Linked DNA regions of Homo sapiens: region 2 is linked to region 1. Evidence: promoter capture Hi-C in 16 types of primary human blood cells and fetal thymus (Javierre and others, 2016). All regions are on one chromosome and are shown on one strand. Each heading gives the region's core, a stretch centred on a gene start or on the middle of the fragment in contact. The rest is flanking DNA. Distances are from core to core; before and after follow the strand shown. Region 1 holds the start of GPR139 (G protein-coupled receptor 139). Region 2 holds the start of GP2 (glycoprotein 2).

What was found. Contacts are between HindIII fragments. The CHiCAGO score rates a contact against its expected background, and 5 or more counts as called.
Region 2: a contact is called between the fragment with the promoter of GP2 here and the fragment with the promoter of GPR139 in region 1, in 3 of 17 cell types (M0 macrophages, M1 macrophages and endothelial precursors). The highest score is 8.1, in M0 macrophages.

The regions. Positions count from the first base shown.
Region 1 is chr16:20,071,814-20,075,600 of GRCh38, forward strand. GPR139 (G protein-coupled receptor 139) reads right to left here and starts at 2,077. Exons shown (of 2, transcript NM_001002911.4): 1 at 1,677-2,077. The coding sequence starts at 1,803. The HindIII fragment of the contact is 1,831 bases long and covers 1,558-3,388 here.
Region 2 is chr16:20,325,683-20,329,469 of GRCh38, forward strand. It overlaps GP2 (glycoprotein 2), which reads right to left and starts at 1,831. Exons shown (of 11, transcript NM_001502.4): 1 at 1,785-1,831; 2 at 656-785. The coding sequence starts at 749. The HindIII fragment of the contact is 1,228 bases long and covers 956-2,183 here.

The DNA.
Region 1 (3,787 bases), core at 827-3,326:
GCTTGTCTTTGTCTCTGTCCCTTAAATGGTTTCATTAGAAAAGCCTGGGATAGTGAGTGAGTGAGTGGCTATCTCACTCAGTAGAGGAGGTGCAAGGGTGGGTGGATTGTTGGGGGGACATTCTGATGGGAATGCTGAGGGGGAAAGAGGTTCTTACACTTTTCCAGTTCAGCAAGCATCATCAAATAACCAACCTTCTCAAAAACTCATTTCCCAAAACAGTGCTCTGGGGAGAGAAGCTCCGAAGGGCTGAAGGGGGGAGGTGGAACCTGGACTAAAATCAATCCCAGCTCAAGGTAATTACAGGACATGTGCTACCACCCCGGCAGGGCAAGTCAGAGGCTGAGCTGCTCTCCTAGGGCAGCCGTGGCGATTAGTTAGGAATAAAAGCCTCATCACTGGCTTGGGGAGAGAGGCTCACACATTAGTAAACTTGCGCTTTCTCATGCCTGCCAAATTTGGGAGGGGGGATTTATTGAAACAATCTCATCAGGGGCCCTGACTGCCAAGTTGAATGTTTGGGAAAGGAAATCTCAGCCAGGCTCTCAGAAATCCAGCTCCCAAGTTCCCAGGATCGCAAGATGCTAAGGTTCGCAGACTAAGAGATGACTAGGGAGATGATGCTAAGATTTCAGGCTGTACACTGGATTTTTTTTCTCTCTTTCTCTCTGCTTCTTTCAGTCCCTCTCTCCTCTCTGCATGCAAGTAATCTTTAGGGATCTATTTGTCACCAAGACTGCCTGCAAGGAGGGTCCACCCAAAGCTGGAGCCCCAGGAAAAAAGCTTTCTCTCTCTCTCGCTCTCTCTCGCACACGGCCCAGGCAAGCACTCCCTCCTTCTCGGCAGCTCAGCTCTCTTCAGGAATTCAGGACAAGTCTCAGCCACACTTTGGAAAGGACATTAAGATGTGGGACCAGCCAGACATCCACAGCAGCCGTGAGCTGCCCAGGGTGGGTAGACCTGGAGGCCAAGCCAGGGGGCCAGGCATGTCCTCAAGGAGACTGTGACCCCCTGAGGTGGCAGCCACCGCAGGCTGCCCTGTGTGTCTCTGCACCCTTGCCCTGGCCAGGGCATGGTCCCAGAGCCAACCCCTGATTCTCCTTAGCCAGCTGGGAGACCCTTTTCTTGCTAGGCATTCTTTCTCCATTCCAGTGCCCCCCGAGCAAGAGAGTGCTCAATGTCAGGGTCTCCAGCTTCATCTCGTGTCAGGCGGGGACACGCAGAGGGGCAGAGGTGCCCCAAGTGGGGTGGACGTGCAGGGGCCACGGGAGAAGGGAAGCCTCCACGAAGCCTTCTGTCCAGAACATGCAGTCAAGCCAAACACACACAAAGCCCTCTACGCCCCCACCCCATGAAAGCCGCCCCCTCCAGATGCGCGCACAAATGCACCTTCGAATCCATGCTCACATGCCCAGCCCATCGCCCGCCGTCACAGTCATCACACACACACACACACACACACACACGCTCGCGCGCGCACACACACACACACGGTCCCCAGCTAGGGCACAGCAACTTCCTTTCCCCCCGTGTGGAAATATCCATAGTTGCCCTTAAAGCTTAAACTTTTTCCGAGGGGGCGCCAGGGAACGCACGGGGGAGGACGGGGGATTCTGGGTAGGGTTGCCCGGCACTTGGGGTTCCTGGCTTCCCTCCCTCTCCCCCACGCCCCTCACCTGGTAAACCGAGGCACAGCAAGAGGCTGTAGTAGACCACGGGCACGAAACCCAAGCCGCAGGCCGAGCCGGGGGACCACCAAGACAGCGAGCTGTTGGCTGCGAGGTGGGCGTGCGTGTGCTCCATGAGCGCGCCCCTCGCTCCCCTTGCCGCTTCGCGCCCGGCCTGCCAGCCCGACTCTGGTCGCCGGCTCGGTGGTGGCGGCGGCGGAGGCAGCGGCAGCTGGAGCAGCAGCGCCTCTCTCCCCGCAGGACTGGCTCCTACCCTTGGCCGTGATCCCCTCTGCTCGCTCCGCACCTGCCCGCCTGGAGTCTTGGCTCAGCCCTCCCGCAGGGCGCGGGGCGCAGGGTGCGGGGCGCGCTGCGCGGGGCCTCGGGAGGGGCTCCCGGAGCCCGTCTGTGCGCCTCCCACCTCGGACCCGCTCCACTCCCGCCTCAAAGCCGGGGGGCTGGGACGCCGCTCCCCGCAGCCAATCAGCGGCTGCCTGGAAGCGGAGTGTGTGTGGGGTGGGAGGGATGCGGAAGAGGAGGGGGTCCCAGCCGCCTCGCTTGGCTCCACTTTCAGGGGAGAAGATGCAGTTAGACCTGGGAGCCCCGAAGGAAGACCGGAGTGGAAAACAGGCTATCCCCAATCTCCAACCCCGAGGGAGGGGCGTGGTGTGGGTAGGATCTGCCTCTCCCGCAGCGGCTCCTCACTCCTCCAGCGTGTCCTCAGTTTGCCTTTCTCCACTCTCCTCGCAGCCACCTCTCTTGCCCCTCTCCAATGCTTCCAGTCCATCTCCGGATAGAGGATTCTATACCTAGGGCAAAGAACGGGGGAAGGGGTGGGGCTGTTGGAGCAGCGAGGATGCTAAAGCGTTGTCGGTTTTCCTCGACAAGGGAAGCTGAGCTTGCTGGCTCTGGAAAGAGGGGTGCGTGCCTCCCTGTGCGTGTGTGTGGCGACTCTGGGGGTGGCCGCCGGTGAACTGTCCCCTAACTGGAGTGCGTTTGAAGAGGATACAGACTGGCTAAGAGAAGCCCCTCCTGCATGCCGCCCTTCAGTCAGGAATAAGGATGTTGCAGACACTCAAACACGCACTCGCCCACGCTCACACAAAGACACACAATACCCAGGCATGCGGTGTACTCACACGCTCACTCAGGCACGCGGATGCTCTCCCATCCCACACCCAGACCCTTGAAAACACGCAGGCATCCTCATCACCATGCACAAGACCACACTCACAGGGCGCTCCAAACATACGAAAACGCACGCGGGAGTCATGGGGGCTTGTCGAGAGTGCTTGAAGGTTGTGTGAAGGGTAGCATTTGTAAGGCAGGTGGGATCCAAGCAATGTGTGGGTGGGTGGTCCTTTCTCCTCAGGGCAGGCAGGTGGAGGGTTCCGGGTGTGGCCACCACAGACTTGAGGAGAAAGAGAGGAGAGAAAGAGAGAGAGAGAGAGAGAGAGGAGAGAGAGGAGAGAGAGAGAGAGAGAGAGAGGGACATAGTGTCTGTCTGGGGCTCAAGACAGTGAGTGTGAGAGAGTTAAAGATTCTGCAGGAACACCCAGGCCAGGCATCCCCAGGAGCAGACTGTAGCAGCTGCCTATGCAAAGAGCTGTGATGGGTCTGAGAAGCCTAAGACCCCCCGCCCTCAAACCCCCCACTCCCGCTGCTTCCCAACGCCCCTCACCCCTATATCACATCCATTCCTGGAGAGAAGGAACTGGCTAAGCTTTCCCCAGCCTCTTCCAGGTCTCCCAACGTGGAGCAGACCCCTGTCCCTCAAGACCAGCAAAGAGCATGTATCCAGTTCTTGTCTTTGTTAGAGGTTACCCCAGGCAGGGATGGGGGACACTCTAGGGCAGAGTGGAAATCTCCAAAGCATACAGAGTCAGGCAGTCTGCATAAGGGGGGCATCTACTGGATCTAGCTGGGTCTGTGGTAAGCAAGGAGGCACGTGGCCCCACAAAAGGGCAGATTAGAGTCACATGGACCCAGCCCAGTGAGGCCAGGTCTGAGATTTCAAGCCCCATTAGATACTGAAATTTTATTATGACCTCTCTCGATTAAATATGACTACTGCAAACACAAAGAAAACGAGAACACCGCTGCATTGATGAATAAAGCAG
Region 2 (3,787 bases), core at 581-3,080, 250 kb after region 1:
CAATACACATTAAAGGGGCTTTCTAAAAAAAAGAGATTTTCAAGCTTTGCACATGCTTATAATACACATTAGAAGGGCCTTTCAGAAAAAAAGATTTTCAAACTTTGCTCATGCATGTACTTATTTTAAGACAAGGAATCACTGCATTTGTTATTCTTAGATTGTATTTTTCCACTGGAGGCCTCCAATGAGCTCAGTACCCTCTCCCACCCTCCTCCAGGGGCTGAAATTTGCACTCTAATTCTAAGCCTGAGACTCCTTTCTGCAAGTATCTGAATTGCCCACTTCATAAAGAGATCACTTAATCTAGCCCTTTCAGGAAAAGGAGAAGGCACTTGCCAGCACAAGGTGACTGAGTTATGTATTTCTTGATCTTCTTTAATCTGGGGTCTCTAATCTCCCAAAGATATGGGCATGGGAAATTATGTTAACTGGCTCCCACTGCCCTTTCAGAGGAATTTCTGATTAGGCTCTTTGAGAGATTGTGACTTGATTTCCATTGTTTCTCATTATGTTTCCCTTGACTTCTAGCTCTGAGTTTTTGCTTTAGAACTGCCAATTCCTCTTCCTTACCTGAGCCACCTTCTCTGCACTTCTATCCTCACTTGCTAGGTCTTCCTTGACATCTGAGATGCCAGGTGAGCAGAATACTTACCTCGCTGCACTGCAGATGCCTGGGTCAGAATGCAGGAGACCAAGGCCAGCCACAGGAGGCCAGAGCCCACCATCCTTTCCATAAGGTGAGGCATGCAGGTCACTTTGCTGTATGCAGACTTCCCATGCAGCTATGGGAAAGAAAAGACCAAGATAAGATTAGGGCATAGGTCTATGTTCTTAGAAACAGATCCGTTGACTTCCTTCATAAAGAGCTGCATTGTTTCAAAGTAGGTGTGACTTATGGACAGATAGAGCGAGATAATGGGTGATAAAATTGACAGTAAGCAAACCAAAGGCAAGCTTAGAGCTGGCTAGTACTGCAGAATGTCCTAGAAAGGTCTCAGGATGGTCCCTGCTCAGGTGGAAGTAGAGGCTCTTTGGAGATTGGATAGAGAAAAAGGGATATGGTACCTGTGAATACCTGCACACAAAAGTAATGGCTGCCCTTTCTTAGTTTTATGCATTGGGTGCTGCTAAGAGCCCCCTGAAATGTCCTCTATGGATGTAGATTTCTGTGACTGTGGAACCATGCCAAACCGAGCCTCATGTTCCTTGCTCCTAGTACAGAATCTGGCACACAAGGAGTACTCAGTAGAGGATTAAGGATGAATAAATAAATCAATGGGGGTTGGGGGCGGTGGCGAGGCAGAAAGAAAGAGCTGCAAAAAAGCCTGCCAGCATTTGGATGGCATTTACTTTTCTGGGAAATACTTTCCCTAAATGGCCAAATCTTTGGATAACTTCCTACAACCTCTGGAAGACTTCAGTGGAAAATAGAGATCGGTTTCGGGCAGGGATACCATGAGTATGCTATGAGACAGCAGGGATAGGGAAGCACCCAGGATTGGTGATTCTTAGAGATGAGATCCCAATAGAGACCTAGTTCCCTGGTGGGAATATCTGGGACAAGGAAGAGGGTGGCGTCCGTAGGCCTGGAGCATCGCAGATGACTGGAAGCATGACTGAGTTGGACATAGAGTGGTACCTGGAGCACTTGACAATGGCCAGGGTCCAAACTACTTGCTGGGTTCTAAAAATTTCCAGAAACAAAGAATCCTAGCATGTCCAGTGGATCAAGATTTCCCAGGATTAGGAGGAAGCCTCCTGGGGCTTAAAGCAGGACTTACCTCCGATGAGAACACAAAGCGTTCCTCCTCTGGCCAGCCATGGGAATGCAGCCTGCTGTGGGCCGTCTTTTTATTGCAATTTCCCACCCATGTGTCTCTCCTCAATTGGTGCACAGGTATGATGGGAGTTCTAGGCCATACACTGGGCTTGTTGAGTGGAGGTGAGATAAGCCATTTACGCAAAGGATGGTGAAAGAAGGGCCCTCCCCTCACAATGTCAACCCTTCCAGCTGTCTCAGCATTGTGCGAATGCTTCCTACAAACAATAGTGCTGTGTGCTGAATGCTGAACATGCTGGGCACTGCTTTGCGTTCTTGACTTCTCACATTTAATCTTCATAATTAATCAATGAAACTGGTGCCATATTTATTACCAGAAACCAAACACGAATTGAAAGGAAGCTTAATACCCAAAGGGAAGTGAAGAGAAAATCAAACAGGCACTTGTTTGCACAATGGATTTTCAGTTGTACCTTGTGTTCCTAGCTAATCATCTTGGAACATTTCTGCTTCTGTCTGAAGGCCACTGAGCTTGGGGCCAGTTAGACTAAGAGGACACATAGGAAAGGAAAGAAGGGAGTGTGGATGTTTCGAAAAATTCCATTTATTGGTCCATAGAATCTACCCAACTCCGGATTTCTAATGCTGAGCAGTTTTGGAATGGCTAATTTGGTGATGATGGATTTTGGAATGGCAAAGGACAGACAAAGGTTCTTGGACAAAAGAAGCACCAGAGTAGCCCCTGTAAATCCCTTTTGATATGTAGGCTGCCCTAGAGATTGGAAGGCATGAGACTGAGAAGAGGCTGTAGAGGATCTTGGACTTATTAACTCCAGGCTTGGACCTGGCTTTCATGACATGGTAGAAATCATGGACTTCATAAAAGAGCCAAAGCTTTTGCAGAAAAAATGGCCACTGCTTCTTCTCTGTCACTCTGGGACTCCTTAAGGAGCCAAGGCAACTGGAGTCAAGGGAGCAGGAGGGTCTTGGCATTGGTAACACCTTCTACAAAACCTCAACCTGGAAAAAGAAAAGGTGCTACAAGCCACCTTCTCTACTCCCAGAGCAACTGGAGAATAAATAGTCTCTAAAATGTGGAACTTGTGACAACTGGGCCCACTAAATCACCTACTGATCCATTCAGTCTGGCCAGGTGCCCATCCCAGTCTCCCCAGTGGCCACTCTTAACCTTCCCATTCCTCTTAAATGGTCTCTGCAGCTATTATCACCCACTCACACCACCTTTCTCAGCAGATATCTGGTACCCTACTTCAAAAACAATTTAGGCCACAACACCTGACCTTGCTCCTTCCCCTGTAAACATATAAATACTGGTCTCCATCCTCCACCCCTTCCCCCTCCAACTTCTGATAAGGCGATGTTCCTCCTTTTCAAAGTCAGTTCCTCCATCCCTCTTCTGGCTTCTCCATTCCAATCTGAACCATGTAGCTACAACTTTATAGCCAAATCCACTGGGTAGTTTGTTTCTGCTCCTTTGTGATTGGATTTGCCTACTGCTTGTTCCGGGTACCTTGCATTTCCTTGACTCCGCATGTTCATATTTTCTTGATTCTCCTGTTTCTACCTGGAGATTTCTGCTCTGTTGCTACAAGATCCTGTCTCTAAGAATGCTGGTTAGGTCCCATTTTTCTTTTCACGTCATAAACTCTCCCTGGGAGGTATCAAGTTATCTCATGGTTTCACATACCATCTCCAGGCTGGTGAGTTCTGAATCCGTATCCCCAGCTTTCGCTACTCCCTTGAACTTCAGTTCCATCTACCTATTGATTGCTGGACCTCTCACTGCCGCTGAGATGCTTGAGACACCTCAAACTCAGCAAGTGCAACTCTGAGCTCATCAAGTCACCTAAATCTTCTCCTCCTCATTGTATGATCTATTTTAATCAAAGGTGCCACTTGCCTCCCAGTCATCCAAGCTGGAAACTTGGCCTCTTCCTTTCTAAGCTCCTTCCTTTCTCCCTCTGCTCCCATTTCCAATAATCC